Regions from separate parts of the Homo sapiens genome. Here all the other regions are linked to region 3. The links are contacts of gene promoters, found by promoter capture Hi-C in blood cells and fetal thymus (Javierre and others, 2016). All regions are on one chromosome and are shown on one strand. The core of a region is centred on a gene start or on the middle of the fragment in contact, and the rest is flanking DNA. Distances in the headings are between cores, read along the strand shown.

The links. The method cuts DNA at HindIII sites, captures the fragments that hold promoters and counts their contacts. A CHiCAGO score of 5 or more calls a contact.
Region 1: a contact is called between a fragment that was not itself captured here and the fragment with the promoter of MRTFA-AS1 in region 3, in 1 of 17 cell types (endothelial precursors). The highest score is 5.2, in endothelial precursors.
Region 2: a contact is called between a fragment that was not itself captured here and the fragment with the promoter of MRTFA-AS1 in region 3, in 3 of 17 cell types (endothelial precursors, megakaryocytes and erythroblasts). The highest score is 6.5, in endothelial precursors.
Region 4: a fragment that was not itself captured here is called in contact with the fragment with the promoter of MRTFA-AS1 in region 3 in 3 of 17 cell types (endothelial precursors, erythroblasts and megakaryocytes); the score reaches 5.3 in endothelial precursors.

What each region holds. Positions count from the first base shown.
Region 1 is chr22:40,780,820-40,786,454 of GRCh38, reverse strand. All of the region lies in intron 4 of SLC25A17 (solute carrier family 25 member 17), which reads left to right. Among named protein-coding and RNA genes, the nearest start is that of MIR4766, 30 kb to the left of the region's middle. RefSeq lists an enhancer at 3,891-4,390. The HindIII fragment of the contact is 1,123 bases long and covers 3,561-4,683 here.
Region 2 is chr22:40,868,735-40,874,151 of GRCh38, reverse strand. XPNPEP3 (X-prolyl aminopeptidase 3) reads right to left here. Exons shown (of 10, transcript NM_022098.4): 2 at 5,037-5,153. Among named protein-coding and RNA genes, the nearest start is that of DNAJB7, 9.3 kb to the right of the region's middle. The HindIII fragment of the contact is 3,923 bases long and covers 87-4,009 here.
Region 3 is chr22:40,518,544-40,524,458 of GRCh38, reverse strand. It overlaps MRTFA-AS1 (MRTFA antisense RNA 1), which reads right to left and starts at 2,659. Exons shown (of 4, transcript NR_109965.1): 1 at 1,486-2,659; 2 at 1,019-1,093; 3 at 741-934. The region is part of intron 3 of MRTFA (myocardin related transcription factor A); the gene reads left to right. The HindIII fragment of the contact is 4,880 bases long and covers 1-4,554 here.
Region 4 is chr22:40,812,911-40,818,403 of GRCh38, reverse strand. All of the region lies in intron 1 of SLC25A17 (solute carrier family 25 member 17), which reads left to right. MIR4766 (microRNA 4766) reads left to right here and starts at 4,446; the gene lies at 4,446-4,521. RefSeq lists an enhancer at 1,026-1,085. The HindIII fragment of the contact is 625 bases long and covers 2,643-3,267 here.

The DNA.
Region 1 (5,635 bases), core at 2,873-5,372, 260 kb before region 3:
GATATCCAAGGGGGTCCTGGATCCACTTCCCCTAAGATATGCGAAGTAACCGTACTTTCCTCTCCACCACCACCTCAGTCCCAGCCACCATCATCAAATCTTTCTGGAATTATCTCCAGAGCCTCCTACTTTTTTTTTTTTTTTGCAACAGGGTTTCACTTTGTCACCCAGGCTGGAGTGCAGTGGCATGATCTTGGCTCACTGCAACCTCTGCCACCTGGGTTCAAGCGATTCTCCTGCCTCAGCCTCTCTAGTAGCTGGGATTACAAGCACACACCACCATGCCCAGCTAATTTTTTGTATTTTCCTAGAGACGGAGTTTCACCACGTTGGCCAGGCTGGTCTCAAACTCCTGACTTCAAGTGAGCTGCCTGCCTTGGCCTCCCAAAGTGCTGGGATTACAGGCGTGAGCCACTGTGCCCAGCCAGAACCTCCTAACTGATCTGTCACTTTCTCCTTAGTCTCCTTCAGTCTGTATTCAGCACAGCAGCCAGTGTGATCATGTTAAAACATGAATGAGGGCTGGGTACAGTGGCTCATGTCAATAATCCCAGCAGTTTGGGAGGCTAAGGTGAGAGAATCGCTTGAGGCCAGGAGTTTAAGACAGCCTGGGCACCATAGCAAGACCTCATTTCTACCAAAAAAAAAAACCAATTAGCAGGGCATGGTGGCATGCACTTGTAGTCCTAGCTATTCAGGAGTCATTCAGAGTGAGACCCTGTCTCTTAGAAAAAAATTTTAAAAAGTGAATGAGATCATGTCATTTCTCTGTTCAGAGCCTTCCAGTTGCTTCCCATCTCACTCAGAGGAAAAGCCAAAGTCCTTACCTTGTCCTGCAAAGCCTGTTTAACCCGGCCATCCTATTCTCTTTACTTACACTGCTGCAGCCACCCTGACTTCTTCATCCTAAACACTCCTGGCACGTGTCTGCCTGTGTACCTGCTATGACCTCTGCCTGGTAACCATGTGGATAACTCCTTTGCCTCCTTTTAGGTTTTTCCCAAATGGCCACTGTTAAATGATAAACTTTAGACAAATTATGTTTAACAGAGCTTTTTTTGTTTGTTTTTTGAGAAGGAGTCTCACTCTGTCACCCGGGCTGGAGTGCAGTGGCGCGATCTCCGCTCACTGCAACCTCCGCCTCCCAGGTTCAAGAGATTTTCCTGTCTCAGCCTCCCAAGTAGCTGGGACTACAGGCGCAAGCCATCATGCCCAGCTAATTTTTGTATTTTTAGTAGAGACGGGGTTTCACTCTGTTGGCCAGGCTGATCTCGAACTCCTGACCTAAGGTGATCCACCTGCGTCAGCCTCCTAAAGTGTTGGGATTACAGGCGTGAGCCACCATGCCTGGCCTAACAGAGTTTGATCAAGCAAAGAACAATTCGCAAATTGGGCAGCCCTCAGAACCAGAAGGTCAGAGTGACTCTGGAGCTGTCACATGGTAGAATATTTATGGACAGAAAAAGGAAAGTGACATATAGAAGTCAGAAGTGAGGTACAGAAACAGCCAGATTAGTTACCACTTGTTTACCTTATTTGAACAGTTGGCTGCCTGTGATTGGCTGAAACTCTATGATTGGCACAAGATCCAGGTAGGTTATAGTTCACTATATACTGAGAAACCTTCAAGGTTATTTTTTTTCCTTTTCTTTTTTTTTTTTTTTTTTTTTGTTGTTGTTGAGATAGGGTCTTGCTCTGTCATCCGGGCACTGGAGTACAGTGGTGCAGTCATAGTTCACTGCAGCCTCCAACTCCTGGGCTCAAGAGATCCCCCTGCCTCGGCCTCCCCAGTAGCTAGGACTACAGGGATGCCACCACACCCAGCTAATTTTTTTTTATTTTTTGTACAGATGGGGGTCTTTCTGTGTTGCCCAGGCTGGTTTCAAACCCCTGGCCTCAAGAGATTCTTCTGCCTCGACCTTCCAAAGTGCTAGGATTACAGGTATTAGCCACTGCTCCCAGCTGAATATTTATTTTAAAAAATAAAAAGAATATTTATTTTTATTGATATTAAATCTACCTTCTTAAAGCAACTAGAAACAAAGATGAAACTTAGTACATATGTTTTCTCCCCCTGCAAACGTATGAGTTAGCAATTCCAAAGTGACTTTTTGTATACTTTAGGATAAGTAAATATATTGTGATCCTGGCCTAGTTCGCTTGGACAATAAAGAAAAAGTATATACCCTTTCCCACAAGCCATTTATTCATCATGGTTTGTTCATCAAATATATATTGGGTGTCTAGTATGTGCTAAATCCAGTTCTAGATGCTAAGGATATGGCAGTAAATAAAAAATGAAAATCTCTGTCCTCATGAAGCTTACAATCTAATATTGTAAGATAGACAATAAACAAGGAAAATACATAGTATGTTAGAGGATAAGGTTACAGACAAAATTTAAGCAGAGAAGGGATAGAGAGTACTGAGGGTTAGAAAGAGGTACCATTGGCCGGGCGCGGTGGCTCATGCCTGTAATCCCAACACTTTGAGAGGCCGAGGCAGGTGGATTACCGAGGTCAGGAGTTTGAGACCAACCTGGCCAACATGGCGAAACCCCCTGTCTACTAAAAATACAAAAATTAACTGGGTGTGGTAGCGGGCACCTATCATCCCAGCTACTTGGGAGGCTGAGGTAGGAGAATCACTTGAACCCAGGAGGCGGAGGTTGCAGTGAGCGGAGATCGAGCCACTGCACTCCAGCCTGGGAGATAGAGCGAGACTCCATCTCCAAAAAAGAAAAAAAGAGGTACCATTTTAGATAGTATGGTGTTAAGTCAAGTTAAAGCTGTCTCTACATATTTTAACTTCAGTGCTGGGAATGGTAAAAAATTAAAAATAAATTAGCCGGCATGTGCCTGTAATCCCAGCTACTTGGGAGGCTAAGGAGGGAGGATCACTTAAGCCCAGGAGTAGGAGGCTGCAGCAAGACCATGTCTCAAAAAAACAAAATAAAATAAAATAAATAATTGTAACAGCTAATGGAATAAAACAGGTGTGAAAGTGAATTCCTGTGTTTTGAAATTGTAAAGAATAAAAGGAATAATCACTTGGTGATTGGATTAGATTAGTGGTTCTCCACTGAGGCTGATTTTGACCCACAGGGTCAAATGTGGCATCTAGTGGGTAGAGGCCAGGGAGACTGCTAATCATCCTACACAAGAGCCCACATACACACACAACAAATAATTTTCCACCCCAAAATATTAGTACTGTCACAGTTGGGAGACTCTGGGTTAAAGAATTTTACAATCCTTTGTTAATTGTGAGATTCTCTGATTGTAGGTCTTCTCTTTTTCTGAAGGTTGAGAGTTCCTTGAAAATTACTTTTGTGAGTTTTAAACTTCTCTTCATAACAAGTTTTTATATCTTAATATGTACATATTTTTATAATAATTATAACAGCTTTCTTCCTGCTGTGAGTATTATAATCACTGTAGAAATGAGTTGTATCATCTCTAAGGAGAACTAGGAACAGCGTTGTTGCTCTTCAAATTCTTCTTGAAACTTAGAAATTTATTATTTATTGTATTTTCCCAGAAAAACAAGCCTATAAAGCTTCATATCTTGGGGAATAATGTGGGAACAGAACCTTAACAGATAAATGAAGAGACACTTATTTTTATGAAATTGGAATTTTTAGCAATAACTCTTACTGAATGCCAAAGGTATTATCATTGTTGTGATAGTTCAAAATGTATTTCCTGCCCTCTGGCCTTAAATCTGGCAAGACAGGTTTGTTCCTGTTGTGTGTAAAGTTTCATTCCTTCCTACGGAGTCAAGTGAGATTTGTTAGATTTGTGCCTTTGTTTTGCCATTTTCTTATATCCATGGTCATTGCACATATTTTCCAGAAGTGCATACCCAATTAGCCTACTTCGTTTGTGTTTTCTCTCCGTAACAAAGGAGACTCACTGCTGATAAAACTAATTGTTTTCAAGATTTCAGGAGTAAATAGCTGTGTTCTAATTGTTCCTTGATTTAGTGAATAATTTTAGTGTGTTCAATTACTGTTATTCATCTCTTAATTTTGGTTTATTCTTTCTTGTAAATGATTTGTTACATAAAAGAAAGAAAGAAAATAGAATTATAGACATTAGAATTAGAAAAAAAACAGTCTTCTGCCCTTTGGTAGGTAAAGTATTAATTTGTATTTCTACTTTAGAGCGGAAGTAGCATCCACAGCTTGGAACTGGCGGAAGAGTTGTTGTTGTTGTTGTTGTTGTTGTTGTTTTGAGATGGGGTCTCGCTCTGACACCCGGGCTGGAGTGCAGTAGTGCGATCTCGGCTCACTGCAACCTCCACCTTCTGGGTTCAAGCGATTCTCCTTCCTCAGCCTCCTGAGTAGCTGGGACTACAGGCGCCCGCCACCGTGCCTGGCTAATTTTTGTATTCTTAGTAGAAACAGGGTTTCGCCGTGTTGGCCAGGCTGGTCTCTAACTCCTGACCTTGTGATCCACCCGCCTCAGCCTCCCAAAGTGCTGGGATTCCAGGCGTGAGCAACCGCACCCGGCCGGAACTGGCAGAAGAGTTACACGGGCTTACAAAAAAGCAGACAATTTTCTTTATCCTTTGGGCCTGTCAGGAGTTGGAATTGGTACTCACGAATGGTTTGTGGCATGCTTCTCTCAGTGGAATGCTGACCTTTGCTTGATGATATAGGTTGCAAGTTTTAGTAAAGCTTCGGATTCTCAAGTATTTTGAGTAGCTTCTCTCAGAACTCATAAAATTATACTGGTTAAAAAATACTCCTCCATCTATTTTGGCTTAGAGAGTGAAAAAAAGTACTTGAACTTCTCAGATAAAAAGCTTTGAAATACCAAATGTTCTTACAAGGACTTTATAATCTGTTATTTAAGTAATGTGGTACATTTTTGTACTTGAGGTTGTCCTTGAGAAGAATCCTTTTAGGCCGGGTGCGGTGGCTCACACCTGTAATCCCAGCACTTTGAGAGGCCGAGGCGGGCGGATCACGAGGTCAGGAGATCGAGACCATCCTGGCTAACACGGTGAAACCCCGTCTCTACTAAAAATACAAAAAATTAGTCGGGCGCAGTGGCGGGCGCCTGTAGTCCTGGCTACTCGGGAGGCTGAGGCAGGAGAATGGTGTGAGCCGGGGAGGCGGAGCTTGCAGTGAGCCGAGATAGAACCACTGCACTCCGGCCTGGGCGAAAGAGCGAGACTCCGTCTCAAAAAAAAAAAAAAGAATCCTTTTAGTCTTTCTGCTTGTGTTAATAATGGGGATATGAAAGCAGATTTTTTTTTCTTTTTTCTTTTTTTAATAAGAAAAGGTCTCACTCTGTTGCCCAGCTCTGGAGTGCAGTGGCATGATCACAGCTCACTGCAGCCTCAACCTCCTGGGCTGAAGCGATCTTCCCACTTCAGCCTCTTGAGTAGCTGGAACCACAGGAGTGTGCCACCCTGCCTGGCTAATTTTTAATATTTTTTTTAGAGATGGAGTCTCCCTCTTTTGCCCAGGCTGCTATTGAACTCCTAGGCTCAAGTGATCCTCCCATATCAGCCTCTCAAAGTGCTAAGATTACAGGCATGAGCCACCACACTGGGCATGAAAGCAGAATTTTAAAGAATGGTTAGATCTTAATCTTAGCTGCATTGCCTCCTAAGTGTTTTTGTA
Region 2 (5,417 bases), core at 799-3,298, 350 kb before region 3:
TTTCTTCCTAACTCCCCAAAGTTGTTATCAAGCATCATTTTAATCTTTTAAATAGTATAAAAATCTTACCACCACCAAAATAAGCTTTGTCTTTTAGATATTATTAAAATCAACCATATTTAACAAGTTTTAAAAATAAAATGCATCCCTTGCTCAAGAGACGGCTACAATTAAACTATCACTGAAAGATGGGCAGCTGATTTTGAAACTCTTAAGGGAAAAAGATTTGGGGATTATTATCTATAACCCACTCTAGAATCAATCATTTCATCATTTTAAATATTATATTCACTGTAACTGTACTGTCTCTGCCATTATATTTATTTATTTATTTTATTTCTATTTTATTTTATTTTTGAGACGGTCTTGCTCGGTTGCCTAGGCTGAAGTGGAGTGGCACAATCTCAGCTGACTGCAGCCTTGACTTCCCAGGCTCAAACAATCCTCCTACTTCAGCTTCCCAAAGTGCTGGGATTATAGGCGTAGCTAGGACTACAGACATCTGTCAACACACTCAGCTAATTTTGCTTACTTTTTTGCAGAGATAAGGTCTCACTACGTTGCCCAGGCCTCCCAAAGTGCTGGGATTATAGGCGTGAGCCACCGCACCTGGCTTCTGCCATTATAGTTGACGATAGAGATGAAACGGTAAATGGTGAAAGCATCGTCTTATATTTCATGCCACACAGTTGCATTCTGATTATTTCCCTAAAAATCTGTTTGCTGCTGTAGTTGAAAACCAAGAAGTGGGCCAGGCATGGTGGCTCACGCATGTAATCCCAGCACTTTGGGAGGCCAAGGCAGGCAGATCACAAGGTCAGGAGTTCAAAACCAGCCTGACCAATATGGTGAAACCCCCTCTCTACTAAAAATACAAAAATTAGCCAGGTGTGGTGGCGCACACGTGTAGTCCCAGCTACTCTGGAGGCTGAGGCAGGAGAATTGCTTGAATCTGGGAGGCGGAGGTTGCAGTGAGCCGGATCACGCCACTGCACTCCAGCCTGGGCGACAGAGCGAGACTCTGTCTCAAAAAAAAAAAAAAAAAAAAAAAAAGAAAAAGAAAAAGAAAAAGAAAACAACCATGAAGTGGTTCTACATATGTCAGACAAGTTATTCTGACAAGCCCAACTCCCTGAGTAGCCCTTTTTAAACCTAGCATTCCAAACTATACCACATATTCTAAAACTAATTTTAAGAATGTAAAAATTTTAGAAATAATGCTTCATTAGGAATTCCACTGATTCTTCCCGTTCATTCTCTGATATGTTTCAGTGTTTTTTTGAGATGAATGTCTTGCTGTCCTGCTAATGACAACATTACTCCTTTGGCAATAATCAGGGAACCATGGAAGCATCTTTCTTGTACAGATAATATAATATAATCTGTACAATCTGTAAATATCGCTGGGTGTGGTGGCTCACACCTGTAATCCCAGCACTTTGGGAGGCTGAGGCGGGTGGATCACCTGAGGTCAGGAGTTCGAGACTAGCCTGGCCAACATGGTGAAACCCCATTTCTACTAAAAATACAAAAATTAGCCGGATGTGGTAGCAGGCGCCTGTAATCCCAGCTACTTGGGAGGCTGAGGCAGCAGAACTGCTTTAACCCGGGAGGCAGAGGTTGCAGTGAGCAGAGATTGTGTCATTGCACTCCAGCCTGGGCGACAAGAGCGAAATTCCGTCTCAAAAAAAAAAAAAAGTAGACTCACAGTTCAGAATGCCACTTGCCTTCCTACATGGAATCATTTTCATGTCTGAGTGTCAAGTGTGAGACAAGGTAGTAATCAAAGAGACTGACCAACATTTTCCATCTCTACCGATACAGACCTTAGCACAGAGATGGCACTGTCATAAAAAGCAGAAATGGTCTACAGTGCTCAGATTTCTCTAAGGAAATGACAAGTTTTGAAAATCACTAGAACCTAGCCGTAAAATCACAGAACCTAGCACAGCCAGAACAGAATTTCTTTATTTCCTGTATCATCCTGCTAAATATTTTCCAAGCTATTGATGCTTCAGGAAACTTGGATAGGTAGGTATGGCAAAGAAAAATCTAGGAAAAATAGCTCCCAAGAATTCAGAGGAACTGGCCCAGTAATTTCACTTTTGTTTTTGTTTTTGAGACAAAGTCTCACTCTGTTGCCCAAGCTGGAGTGCAATGGCGTGATCTCAGCTCACTGCAACCTCTGCCTCCCAGGTTCAAGTGATTCTCCTGCCTCAGCCTCCTGAATAGCTGGGACTACAGGCATGCGCCACCATGCCCAGCTAATTTTTCTATTTTTAGTAGAGACGGGATTTCACTATGTTGGCCAGGCTGGTCTCGAACTCCTGACCTCGTGATCCATCCACCTCAGCCTCCCAAAGTGCTGGGATTACAGGTGTGAGCCACCGCGCCTGGCCCCAGTAATTTCACTTCTAAGAATTTAAGGAAATAATAGAGCAATATGCAAAGAATGTGTACACATGTACACTTATACACACATACACCTATGTAAGAAATAGGACTAAAAAGAAACATATACCAAAATCCTCTCAACAGTGGCTTTCTCTGAGTTGTGGGATTATTAGTAATTAAAAAAAAAATCTATGCTTACCTGTATTCTCTTTTTCTGTATGTATAGAACTTGCGTAATAATTAGGAAAGGCATTGAGATGTTTCCCAAAAGTATTAAGTACATACTGCCATGTATTAGAGAAATATGCAAAACATGAAACCTTTTGGAGAAACCAAGTGCACATTACATAATTTTATATCCTAAACTAACAAGCCAACTGCGTAAGAGACTTTTTTTGAGAGAGAGAGACACGGTCTCATTCTGTCACCCAAGATGGAGTGCAGAGGCATGATCACAGCTCACTGCATCCTTGACCTCCTGGGCTCATGCAATCCTCCCACCTGAGTCCCCCGAGTAGCTGAGACTATAGGCAGGAGCACTAATTTTTTTTATTTCTTATAGAGACAGGGTCTTGCTATGTTGCCTATGCTCGTCTCGAACTCCTAACCTCAAGTGATCCTCTCATCTTGTCTTTCCAAAGTGTTGGGATTATAGGCGTGAGCCACTGTACCTGGCCTAAGAGACTTTTTAAGTATTACATGCCTTTAAATTTTTTTTCCTTTTTTTTTGAGACAGAGTCTCCCTCTGTCCCCCAAGCTGGAGTGCAGTGGCACAATTCTGGCTCACTGCAACCTCCGCCTCCCAGATTCAGGTGATTCTCCTGCCTCAGCCTCCCCAGTAGCTGAGATTATAGGCATATGCCACCACACCCGGCTAATTTTTTTTTTGGGGGGTATTTTTAGTAGAGACAGGATTTCACCATATTGGTTAGGCTGGTCTCAAACTCCTGGCCTCAGGTGATCCACCCACCTTGGCCTCCCAAAGTTCTGGGATTACATGTATGAGCCACTGCGCCCGGCCCCTTTTAATTTTTCTTAAAAATTTACTCTGCTTCACCCTACAATCACTTTAACACTTCCACAAGTTTTGCATCTCTGGAAGGAGAAACACAAATGATTAATTCTTTTGATACTTTTGTCTGCAGAAAAATCTGTACCTAATGGTACATCTGATAGTTTGAGGTTTAAAATACTAATAATTCTGTTTTAAAATTCCATCTACTTCCATCCCTTCTCACTTACCCCAATGTCCAAAATCCCACGTCTAGGAGAGTAAAATTAGGACAGGCATCCCTTTTCCCCCAGATATTCACATACATATGTATGTGAACATATACGTGTACATATTTATTTACATTCACTTATACTTAACATGCACTTAAGGTATAGAGCAAAAAAATCTAGATACAGAGGCCATTATCTTGACAATATAATTACTAGGTTTAAGGCCTGGAAAATGCAGCTTACCATGTAAAAATATCTCACCACAAGAAATCAGTAATTTTCAAAGCTGGTAAAACTATCAATTCTACTTAAAAAAATAACTCGAGTCTACAGGTAGGTTGATAGGGTAGATAAATACTAAAATTAATACCAACTGGGTTGCTATTAAGCTTACCTTACAGCTTTGAAAAACTCTGATTTCTTGTGGGTTTCAGTGGTGAGCTGCATTTCCTTAGTTTCAGCCGACTTCCCAGCAGGAATTCGAGTCTGATGAAAAATCAGCAAAAGGAAGCCCTCACTGAGAAACATACTGGTATCATTCACTGAGTGGGGATAGTGAAAAAGGAACATATTTCTAAAGGTAAATTTCCATTAGTAATATATATGCTTATATGGCAAATACATATTTAATTTCTTATGGCAGAAAGAACAATTAATTTTCCTTGAAAACCTGATTGCTTTTTCTACAATGTGTTTGCTTTTACCCTACCTTCCTCTCTGAGATATTCATTAGTCATAGTTCACCCCTTAAGTGCAAGAAATCAAAACAAAAAACCTTTAGGTCTAAATTTGAGCAATAGTTATAAGACATCTTCTGGCAGCAACGCTGGGATCTTATAGCAGAAAAAAAAATTAGTAAAACAAACCTTTATCATTTTTTTGCATCACCTTTATCAACTGGGATACTACCTCTCAAATCTGTGACAAACAAATCTGGAAATCTTGCTTAATCTATATAGAAATAGGTTATAATTTTAAAGTAAATATTTGATAATTTCAAGAAAAAACATGTTTTCTAAAATGTCTTTAACACAGTAATTCACAATAGTATACAATTCTAAAAGCTGACTTAGAAATAGAACTTTGCTTTAAAAACATCCTGAAATACATACCTTTCATTAATTATTCTGAATTATAAGGTCTATCATATTTAAACCTTGTTCTAGACTAGTATTGTCAATAAAGCACCAGTACCCACATGTAGTTAAGCTTAAATTTAAATTAATTAAAATTAAATAAAATAAAAAGTTCAGCTCCTCAGCTGTACTAGCAACCTTATTAGTGTAAAATGGCCATGTGAGGTTAGTGGCTACCTTATGGAACAGCACAGATCCAGAGCTTACTGCAAGAAGTTCTATTGCATAGCATTGCTCTAGACAGAACCTAAATGGGGAGATAGCACAGTTAAAAGGCCTTACCTGGTCTGAGGAGGTGTGGGTGTGTAAAGGGGCTGGGCTGGCCTAAGTATCGGTTTGGAATCCTCCTTTCTGGGACAGGCTGAAGGGAGTACCTTCGCTGTGAACACAACATACATCCTGAATGAAGAATAAAGAGAATGAAATGAAACAATAGATCTAGAAAGTCTTCATGGTATAAATACACTTATCTCTAGCAGTTTAGATGCTTTAGAAAAATGCAAACTAATATTTCCTTCCTTCTCTCCTTCAATATTCATTTATTTTTTTTTTAAGACAGAGTCTCACTCTGTCACCCAGGCTGGAGTCAGTGGCATGATCTCGGCTCACTGCAACCTCCACCTCCTGGGTTCAAGTGATTCTCCTGCCTCAAGCCTCCTACAT
Region 3 (5,915 bases), core at 1,410-3,909:
ACTCTCAATTTGCTGAACCTCTCAGAAGTTTTCTGTCAAAAAACAACACGTTAAATTTTTTGTTTGCTTTTGTTGGGTAAGAATAATCTGATTTGTTGTAGGCATAAAATGGTGGTGTTAGTATACAATGTTTTAATTATTTTTTTGTGTAGCTTTTATTTTTGAGCCAGGGTCTCACTCTGCTGCCCAGGGTGGAGTGCAGTGGCATAATCACAGCTCATTGCAGGCTGGACCTCCCCAGGCTCAGGTGGTCCTCCCACCACAGATTCCTGAGTAGCTGGGACTGCAAGTGCACATCACTAGGCCCAGCTAAAAAAATTTTTTTTAATGAGAGACAGGTTTTCACTATGTTGCCCAGCCTGTTTTAATTTTTTGAAAGTGCATTTCTGCAATATATTTTGCTCATTGACTATAGGGTGTGAAAATTGTCCTTAACAATTCATGATGCTGTATCTTTCTGATTTTCTGTTTTTCTGTTTTTCCTTGCAAATAGGATCTTGAGGAACTAAAATATTAATTAAACTTGATTTTTTGAACTGTTTTCTTAGTATATTCTCTTGGGAATCGATAAGATTATATTCCTCAAATCAGTGCCATAAGACTAATTTATTTGGTTATGTAAAGTACTGAAAACTTAGGTATCAACATTAATTAGGTTACTCAAACAGATACTATGTCCGTATTCTTCTAATACCTTGCTACTCAAAGTATGTTCCAAGGTCTGGCAGCCTTTGTATCACCTGGAAGCCTATTAGGAATGCAGAATCTCAGACGCCACCTCAGACCTGCGGAATCACAATCTGTTTTAAAAAGATTATTTGCCGGGTGCAGTGGCTCACAGCTGTAATCCCAACACTTTGGGAGGCCAGGGTGGGCAGATTGCTTGATGTCAGAAGTTTGAGACCAGCCTAGGCAACATGGTGAAACCTCATCTCTACAAAAAATGCAAAAATTAGGCAGGCATGGTGATACACACCTGTAGTCCCAGATACTTAGGGGGCTGAAGTGGGAGGCTCACTTGAATTTGGGAGGTCAAGGCTGCAGTGAACCGTGTTTGCACCACGGTATTCCAGCTGGGCCACAAAGTGAGACCCTATCTCAAAAAAAAGATTGTCACATGCATATTAAAGTTGAGAAGTTCAGTTCCAAAAGATATTTTATTTTTATTTCCCAAGATGCTATGAGATGTGTTGGATTTATATGTGGGATTTATATGATGTCTAATTAGTATGGAAGAATAGGGTAAAACAGGAAACAAAAAAGAAAACCTGCTCCTGGTATAGTTCTCTGTGTTAGATAAACGTTCACAATTTGACAACTTTTTTTTTTTTTTGCCATTTTTCTTCATTTTTCAAAGAAAGAACAAATAGGCTTATTTTTGGCATTCTAGAATGTTTAACTGGGAAGGATCTTAGACATGACCTGATAACAAACCTTGGTTTTACAGGTGAACAGACGGGGGGCTAAGAATGTTAAGTGACTTACCCAAGATCATATAGCGTGGACTCCCTGTGACCTGATTTTCAAACTACTGATCTTTGGAACTCCTGTGCTACCCCTCTGTGTTGCTGAAGGCCATCTATTCTTAGTTGGTTCTATTGATGTTGGTTGAAACCATCCCGAACATACCTGTGGCTAGGCACAGTGGCTCACGTCTGTAATCCCAGCACTTTGGGAGGTTGAGGGGGGCGGATCACTTCAGGTCAGGAGTTGGAGTCCAGCCTGGCCAACATGATGAAACCCCATCTCTGCTAAAAATACAAAAATTAGCAAGGCATGGTGGTGCACACCTGTGACTCTAGCTACTCGGGAGGCGGAGGCAGGAGAATTGCTTGAACCCTGGAGGCAGAGGTTGCAGTGAATTGAGACCACACCACTGCACTCCAGCCTGGGTGACAGAGTGAGACCCTGCCTCAAAACAAAACAAAACAACCATCCTGCACAATTATGAGTGAGAGTAAATCCAACACATCTCACAGCATCTTGGGAAAATGATAAGGCTCACTTTCTTCTTTCCCTTCAGTGTGAACTCATGTAATAACTTCAGAGAAAGGCATTTCCCTGCTGTCTGGAAGTTGAACTCCTTCTACAAACTGGTGGAGCTTGCTGCCCAGTCCTGTGCCCTCCGAGCTGAGGGGAAGGCGTGGGGATTTTCTGTTCTACTGAAATGGCAGGATTATGTCATAGCAGTGGTTTTGAGTGTTTAGAGGTAGTGTTATTTTAATTATTTTTCTAACTCTGGTTTAAATAAAAACTTACAAATCAGGAAAGAACTGGCTATCTGTATGTTAAAAAAATTAAGAGAGGGCTGGGTGCAGTGTCTCACGCCTGTAATCCCAACACTTTGGGAGGCCGAGGTGGGTGGATCACGAAGTCAGGAGATCGAGACCATCCTGGCCAACCAACATGGTGAAACCCCGTCTCTACTAAAAATACAAAAATTAGCTGGGCGTGGTGGCGTGCGCCTGTAATCCCAGCTACGCAGGAGGCTGAGGCAGGAGAATCGCTTGAACCTGGGAGGCGGAGGTTGCAGTGAACCGAGATTGTGCCAGTGCACTCCAGCCTGGCCAACAGAACAAGACTCCGTCTTAAAAAAAAAAAAAGGAGAGAGAGAGAGGGAACATTGACTCTTACCTTGTACCATCCCAAAAATTCATTTGAGGCCGGGTGTGGTGGCTCATGCCTGTAATCCCAGCCCTTTGTGAGGTCAAGGTGGGTGGATCGCTTGCGATCAGGAGTTGGAGACCAGCCTGGCCAACATGGTAAAACCCTATCTATACTAAAATACAAAAATTGGCCAGGCGTGGTAGCGGGCACACATAGTCCCAGCTACTTGGGAAGCTGAGGCAGGAGAATTGCTTGAACCCAGGAGGCAGAGGTTGCAGTGAGCCAAGATTGCACCCCTGCATTCCAGCCTGGGTGACAGAGTGAGACTCTGTCTCATAATTAATTAATTAATTAATTAATTCAGGCTGTGGGATACTGCTCAGCAACTTTTAAAAAGGGGCAAACTTTAAACGTTTTAGAAATAAAACACCCTGAATGACTCTTGAGAATTACTCTGAGTGAAAAAAGCCAATCCTAAAATGTTACCTATTGTATGATTCTATTTATATAACATTCTTGAAATGACAAAATTATAGATATGAAGCACAGATTGGTTCTTCATATTGTCAGGGCCTGTGGATGGTGTGGGGCTGAAAGTAGATGTGGCTATAAAAGGTCAACATGAGGGATCCTCAGGGTGATGGAAATGTGTATGTTGACTAACAGTGCCAGTATTCTGGTTGTAATATTGTACTGTAGTTTTGCAAGATGTTATCATTGGAGGGAACTGAGTAAAGGATACATGAGCTCTTTGTATTATTTATTATGTGAATCTATAATTATCTCAGAATGAAAAGTTTATACATGAGCTGTTTATTATTTCTTATTATGTGAATCTATAATTATCTCAGAATGAAAAGTTTAAAAACTACAATTTGGCAGCTTTTCAAAAAGTTAAACATAGATCCTGTGACCTAGCAATTCTACTTCTAGATATATATCCTAGAAAACTGAAAACATTTGTCTGTGTATTTTTACACAGACAAATGTTCATAGCAGCTTTTTCAAAATAGCTAAAAAGTGGAAACAACCCACATGTCTTTCAGTTGATGAATAAACAAAATATGGTATATCCATACAATGGAATATTATTCACTCATAAAAAGAAATCACTGTTGATATATGTTATAAAATGAATGAACCTTGGCCTTGTGTGGTGGCTTATGCCTATAATCCCAGTACTTTGGGAGGCCAAGGCAGGTGGATCGCTTGAGCCCAGGAGTTTGAGACCAGCCTGGGCAACATGGCGAAACCTATGTCTACTAAAAATACAGAAAAATTAGCCAGGCTGGTGGCATGTGCCTATAGTCTCAGCTACTCGGGAGGCTGAGGCACAACAGTCGCTTGAACCTGGGAGATGGAGGTTGCAGTGAACGGGGATCAAGCCACTTGCACTCTAGCCTGGGTGACAGAACGAGACTCGTCTTAAAAAAAAAAATGATGAACCTTAAAAACATTTTCCAAATGAAAGGACATAGACATAAAAGGCCACATATTGTGTGATTCCATTTAAATGAAATGTCCAGAACAGGAAATGGAGAGTGACTGCTGATGGATACAGGGTTTATTTTTGGGGCAATGAAAATGTTCTGGAATTAGTTGCGATAAACTATGGAATTATGCACTTTGAATGGTTGAATTTTATAGTATGTGAATTGTATCTCAATTTTTTAAATTGTGTGAGGAAAAAAATTCAGGTTTCTCTAGAGTGACAGCAGATCAGTGATTGCCTGGGGCTGGAAGTGGAAGGAGAAATTGAATACAAAGGGACACAAGAAAACCCTAGGGATGAAAATATATCTCTTTATTGTCGTGGTTATACAGGCATATGCAATTGTCAGAACGCTTTGAATTGTACACTAGGTGAAGTTTATTGTGTCTGAATTGAAGTTCAATAAAGTTAGTTTTTAAAACTTATAATAAAATTATCTCTAGTTGTTGTAAGCTTAAAATGACCTTTAGGTTAAAATTATCTTATCTCTTATTAATTATAAGGCCAACAACTATTGCAAAAATTACCTCATAGAGTCTGACTTCCGTTGCTAGTTTCTATCCAGTTTCCAAAGTGAAACTAGATTGATCACTTTCACTCAGACTTTGCTCTTAGGCGTTTGTACTAGCCTGACTCCATTATTGTGCTTTTCAGAACCCATGAGTGGGTGTGATTGTTATAACATTTTTTTTAAGTTTATGGAACATTCTATTGCTTTTATTTCTTTTTTGCTTTTATGTACAACAGAAAAATGTCTCAAATTGGGTATAACAAATCAGCGTGATTGCCTTTCACCTCCACTTTGGAGTGCTTTGAGCCAGTTTGGACACAAGGAGGTTGGAGTTAAAATGACTCCTGAAGGAAGTAAGCAAGCATGAGAAGAGAGGGCAGCACTGGTAGGTAACGCTAAAACAACATCGCCTTCATCTCTCAACCCTGATCTCTTTCCAAGAAGTGAGCTGACTAAATGAAATATTACACAAAACCCTCCAAGGTTTGAGAAGAGTTCTAGAGGGTAGTCTCTAAGTGAGAAGGACCATCTCTATAGGTGGCCCTGAGTTTTATCCTCAAATTTCCTTCTACGCCATGTACCCATCCTCACTCATTTTTCGGGTCCCACCAAGCCTAAACTCAGGGGTAGTTTTCCATTTAAAATTCTGCCTCACAGGTGGACACATCTTTTTTATTGTTTCCCTTAAGCACAGATTAGACTAACTTTATTAAAAGAGATCATGCAGGAGCATCCCTTGAGACCGGGAGGCAGAGGTTGCGGTGAGCCAAGATCCTGCCACTACACTCTGGCTTGGGCAACAGAGTGAGACCCTGCTTCAAAAAAAAAAAACCCCAAAAACAAAACCACCACCACCACCACCAAAAGCCTCCAAAACAAAAATCACGAAAACATAAAAGAGACATATGTCTAGAATATCGAATTCTAAGTGGATTTTGTAAGAATTCCAGCAAAAATAAATATATTTAAAATGATAATAGCTAACACTTAGAGTTTACAGTGCATGAAGAGGAAAGACAGACACTGGTTTTTTTTTTTTTTTTTTTTTTTTTTGGAGACAGAGTCTCACTCTGTCGCCCAGGCTGGAGTGCAGTGGCATGATCTTGGCTCACTGCAACCTACGCATCCTGGGTTCACGCCATTCTCCTTCCTCAGCTTCCTGAGAAGCCGGGACTACAGGTGCCCGCCACCACACCCAGCTAATTTTTTTTGTATTTTTAGTAGAGACGGGGTTTCACCTTGTTAGCCAGGATGATCTCGATCTTCTGACTTTGTGATCCGCCCACCTCGGCCTCCCAAAGTGCT
Region 4 (5,493 bases), core at 1,706-4,205, 290 kb before region 3:
TTCCTGTCTACCACAAGTGTGGTTTGTTATGAGGTATACGCTTGATTCTTGGGCTTCTGGTGTCTAGGTTCCACTTGACACTTCCCCTCTCCCCTCTTTTCCTTAAAACTTTCCACTTTTGGCTTGGGTGACTCCTCTTGTGGTTCTTTTATCTCTTTGACTGCCTTTTCTCATATTCTTCACCAGTTGTTAGCACACACCTTTAGCTGTTAAAATCACTGTGACTTCAGAGGAACATCACTGAATCCTCTGTTTAGCCTCCAGAAACTTCACTGAGAGCTCACCTTCTCTGTAGACTAATCTGGATTTAACCCTAACTCCATCATTTGTTAGCTAGATGCCCTGTAAACCTTACTTTCTTAATCTGTAAAGTGGGGGAAGTGATACCTACCTCACAGAGTTTAGAGAATTAAGTGACACAGCATTTCATGAAAATGCCTAATTCAGGAAGCCTGGTTCATTCAGTTCAGCCAGAAGAGCCTTTCAGCCAGCATGAAGGCTGAGATGGACGCTTGCGTGACTTGCTTTAAGATGGGCATGGAGGCCTGTGTTTCCGGAGTGGAGGGAACAAAGAGGCAAATAGGTTTCAGGGGGCCAAATTGTGTGAGACTTTCACTCTGGCTAGCTGTTGAACTTGCTGATTTACCTTTAAACGTGATCACCCTGGCTGCTGTGTTGAGAGTAGAATGTAAGGGAACAGGGGACAAGCAATTATCAGGCGAGAGATGATGGTGACTTGGATCCGGGTGGTAGCAGACATGGTAGAAGTGATCATTGACCTGGAATATATTTATAAAATGAGGGTTGGTTGACTCCAAGAGTTTTTGGCTTCAGTAACTGGAGGGATGGTGGTATTTACTGGGATGGCAGAGGCTGTGAAGGAGAAGGTTTTGGGGGAAATGATAAATTTGGCTTTGGTTTTGGAGGAGTTTGAAATGCCTAAGAGTAGTCGTGAGACTAGATGAGCTCACTAGGGAAGTGTGTATGGACTGACAGAAGAATCTCAATGACTGAGTCTTGGAGCAGGCTAACCATTAAGAGGCCGAGAAAATAAGATTGCACCAGCAAAGGAGACAAACGAAGGATGGATCAGTACTGCAGGAGGGAAGCTAAGAACTAAGAGTGAAAGCCACGTGAAGAAAGTGTTTCTGGGGAAGGAAGTAGACCAGCTGGGTCAGATGCTGCTGATGGGTCAAGTAAGGTGAGGACTGAGAAATAACTGAGAATTTATCATGTTGATAAATCCAGTGGTTAATTGAAAAGACCAGTTTTGGTGGAGTGGTGGGGGAAATAGTTGGAGTGCATCTAAGAGAAGAAAGTGAGAAGATGGGAAATGTTTTTCTCTTCCTTCTTGCAATAAATGTTCATTAAACACCTTTATTGAGTGCATTCTATGTGCCACACGCTGTTCTAGGTGCAAGGAGTACAGTAGAGAAGGTCTTTTTCTTCATGAACTATGCATTGCAATAGGGGAGTCAGACAATAAATGAATAGGCTGGGTGCGGTGGCTCACGCCTGTAATCCCAGCACTTTGGGAGGCTGAGGCAGGCGGATCGCCTGAGGTCAGGAGTTCGAGGCCAGCCTGGCTAACATGGTGAAACCCCGTCTCTACTAAAAATACAAAAAGTAGCCAGGCATGGTGGTGGGCGCCTGTAATCCCAGCTACTCGGGAGGCTGAAGCAGGAGAATCACTTGAACCTGGGAGGCAGAGGTTGCAGTGAGCCAAAATTGTGCCATTGCACTCCAGCCTGGGTGACAAGAGCAAGACTCCGTCTCAAGAAAAAAAAAAAAAAACAATAAAAAATAAATGAATAAATAAAAAATAAGTAGAATAATTTTAGATACAGTTAAGTGCTATAAAAGAACATAGAGATTGGCAAACTTTTTAAAGAGAGCAGATGGGAAATATTTTAGGCTTTGTGTACCGTTGTCACAGCTACCCAACATTGCCATGGTCGTGTGAAATCAGCTGTAGACAGTAAATGAATGGACAGAGCTGTGTTCCAATAAAATACTGTTTTCAAAAACAGATATTAGATTGGATTTGGCCCATAGGCCATAGTTTTCTGACTCCTGCTATAGAGAGAGTGACTGGCAATAGTGGTAATATATTTCTATTTAATCTACAAAGATACTTCTTTTTTTCACTTGTTGCCTATTTTTCTCTTTTTTTCTTTTTCTTTCTTTCTTTCTTTTTTTTTTTTTGAGATGGAGTTTCGCTCTTGTTGCCCAGGCTGGAGTGCATGGAGTGCAGTGATGCAATCTCGGCCCACCACAACCTCCGCCTCCTGGGTTCAAGCGATTCTCCTGCCTCAGCCTCTCGCCGAGTGGCTGGGTTTACAGGCATGTGCCACCACGCCTGGCTAATTTTGTATTTTCAGTAGAGACGGGGTTTCTCCATGTTGGTCAGCCTGGTCTTGAGCTCCCGCCCTCAGGTGATCCGCCTGCCTTGGCCTCCCAAAGTGCTGGGATTACAGGCGTGAGCCACTGCGCCTGGCCTGGAATTACTTTTCTAACTTTGTTTATGCCTGAATCAAAAACGATTAATGAAATTATATCGTCATACATAGTATTGTATAACTTAATTTTTTAAGAAGCAAATATGGCATAATAGCTGAAAAAAAAGGTTCTGTAGTAAAGCTTAACTATGAATGCCATCATCAATCGAACTATAAAACAGGGACAATAACAATGCCTCACTTAACTGGGTTCTTGTGGGAAGTAAATGTGATTATATTTGTGGAGCATCTAGCATAATGGAACGTTGTAGTAAGACCATAATTATTCATTTCTGTCTCAAGTATATTCTTGCAAATACAGCACTTATACCTAGTTTTAGAAATTTAAGGGAATTGAAATGTTCTCTTGCCTCATGGCCATCTCCACCCATTCCCTTCACTTGTTGCAGATGATCTTACCTTTTACTCTCTAGATAAAATAGAACCTACTTGGGATGAGTTTTTTCAGTTTTTTCCAATTACAGTTGTACTCGTGTTTTCTACATTCTGCTGGTCTCAGAGGAAAAATAGACATATTCAGTGTCTGCTACCTTCAATCTTTGTCCTCCCCTCCAGCCCATGGCCAGTTTTCTTCCAGGACTTTGCTCCAGTAATTTTCATCTCTTTCCTATAGCTTTAACCTAGTATCTGCTTCTGTTCAGCCCTCAAACATGGTCAGGTCTGTCCCATCAGAAAACTATACCAATCTGATCTGGAATCTGGTAGCTTCTTCAGCCTCTGCCTGTTCTCTTTCCCTTTGTGCTAAGCTTATTTAAAGAATATTCTGGGCCGGGTGTGGTGGCTCACACCTGTAATCCCAGCACTTTGGGAGGCTGAGGCGGGCAGATCACGAGGTCAGGAGATCGAGACCATCCTGACTAACACGGTGAAACCCCATCTCTACTAAAAATACAAAATATTAGCCGGGCATGGAGGCAGGCGCCTGTAGTCCCAGCTACTCGGGAGGCTGAGGCAGGAGAACGGCATGAACCCGGGAGGTGGAGCTTGCAGTGAGCCAAGATTGCGCCACTGCACTCCAGCCTGGACGACAGAGCAAGACTCCGTCTCAAAAACAAAAAAAACCAAAACAAAACAAAACAACAACAACAACAACAATATATATATATATATATATATATATATATATATATTCTGCACGTACTGCCTTTCCTCATCCTACTTTGACCACTGGAACTGTTCTTCCAAAGGTCAACTCTGACTTCCTAACAGCTTAATCTACTATTGTGAATGGTTTAAGGTCATGGATAACCAGGTACACACACATTTGTGTCTTTTCACAATGTCAGACTTTTATTGTGTTATTTCAGTTATAAAAGACAAGTTACATGGAGTTCTCAAGGAGGCAATTTTTATTAGTACTTCTCATTCACTAGGTAGTCAGTCAATATTGTAAATCATATATAATAGTATACCTAATTAATACATAAATGATGTAGATTAAACATTCTGCAACAAAGTAACATTGAACATCAAGAGAAAAGGGTGAGGAAAAAGGGTTACCTAACCAGTCCGGGGAGAGTGATATAGACAAGTATCCTGGTTTCATCATGGCAGTGTGTTGGTCTTGTAAGAAAGAATCCTTGATGTGGGCAGAGCCTTTGGACACAGATATCAGGCTTTTATAACAAGTGACAGCAAGACAGTGTCTGTTAAGACCATTTTGAGTTTTTTAAGTCCTGTTCTTTTTATGGTCACAGAGTCTTCTGGTAAGGACTGATAGTGGAAGAGCATGCTTGGTTGTGTCTTTATCTGGAAAAACATCTGGTCCCTGTTGTCAAAGTGCTTTTTGAAATGAAAGATAGGAGTCTTTTTCTAAGATGGAGTTACTTATGTCAAGAGTGCTCTATACATCTACTGACTGTTTTTGCATTCTTAATTGATTCCAGTTCTTTGTAAGTATTCTATACTGTTGACCCTTCTACCTTTCTGAAGCTCCTTCTGAAAGAGCAGTTGGTGTTTATTTTTTACTAAATAGCAATTGCTCTTTTGGAAGGAACTTGAGAAGACATTACTCCTTTTAGGGCCCTAAAATTAACAGTGGTTTCTACTACTAACAGATACTATAGCTATAAAGGACATGTAGAAACCAACAATTGTTGAGTGCCACCTGTGTGCCTGGTATGATGCTAGGTGCCAACCATAATTTTTTGTTTTTGTTTTTGAAACTCAGTCTCGCTCTGTCGCCCAGGCTGGAGTGCAGTGGCGTGATCTCGGCTCACTGCAAGCTCCGCCTCCTGGGTTCACGCCATTCTCCTGCCTCAGCCTTCCGAGTAGCTGGGACTACAGGTGTCTGCCACCACACCCGGCTAATCTTTTTGTATTTTTAATAGAGAGGGTATTTTTTTTTTATACAGAGTCTCGCTCTGTCACCCAGGCTGGAGTGCGGTGGCACGATCTCGGCTTACTGCAACCTCTGCCTCCCAGGTTCAAGTGATTCTCCTGCCACATCCTCCAGAGTACCTGGGACTACAGGTGTGTGCCACCACTCCTGGCTCATTTTTGTATTTTTAGTAGAGATGAGGTCTCACCGTGTTGGCCAGGCTGGTCTCGAACTCCTGACCTCAAGTGATCCACCCACCTCAGCCTCCCAAAGTGCTGGGATTGCAGGTGTGAGCCACCATGCCCAGCTACTTTCCATAATTTGATTCTAACTTCTCATAGCAACCTTGACAAATACCGGTCTCAAAATTACAAATGAGGAAATTGAGACATAGAGATTTGAAGTTACTTATGTAATATATACTATACTTGGGACGTAAACCTATATTTTATCCCTAAACACTCGAGAGTGTCATCCATGAGGCCATTTGTGTAACTTGCCTATCTGTCTGTGTATGTATGAGTTAGCTTGATTGTTATGTCAGGGAAAAGACTTACATTAACTCTGATGAGGTGAATAACATTTTTAAATATGAAAGCCATTGTAAGTGGCTTTTAATCTTTAGAATTTTATTAGCTCAAACCACAGAAAACA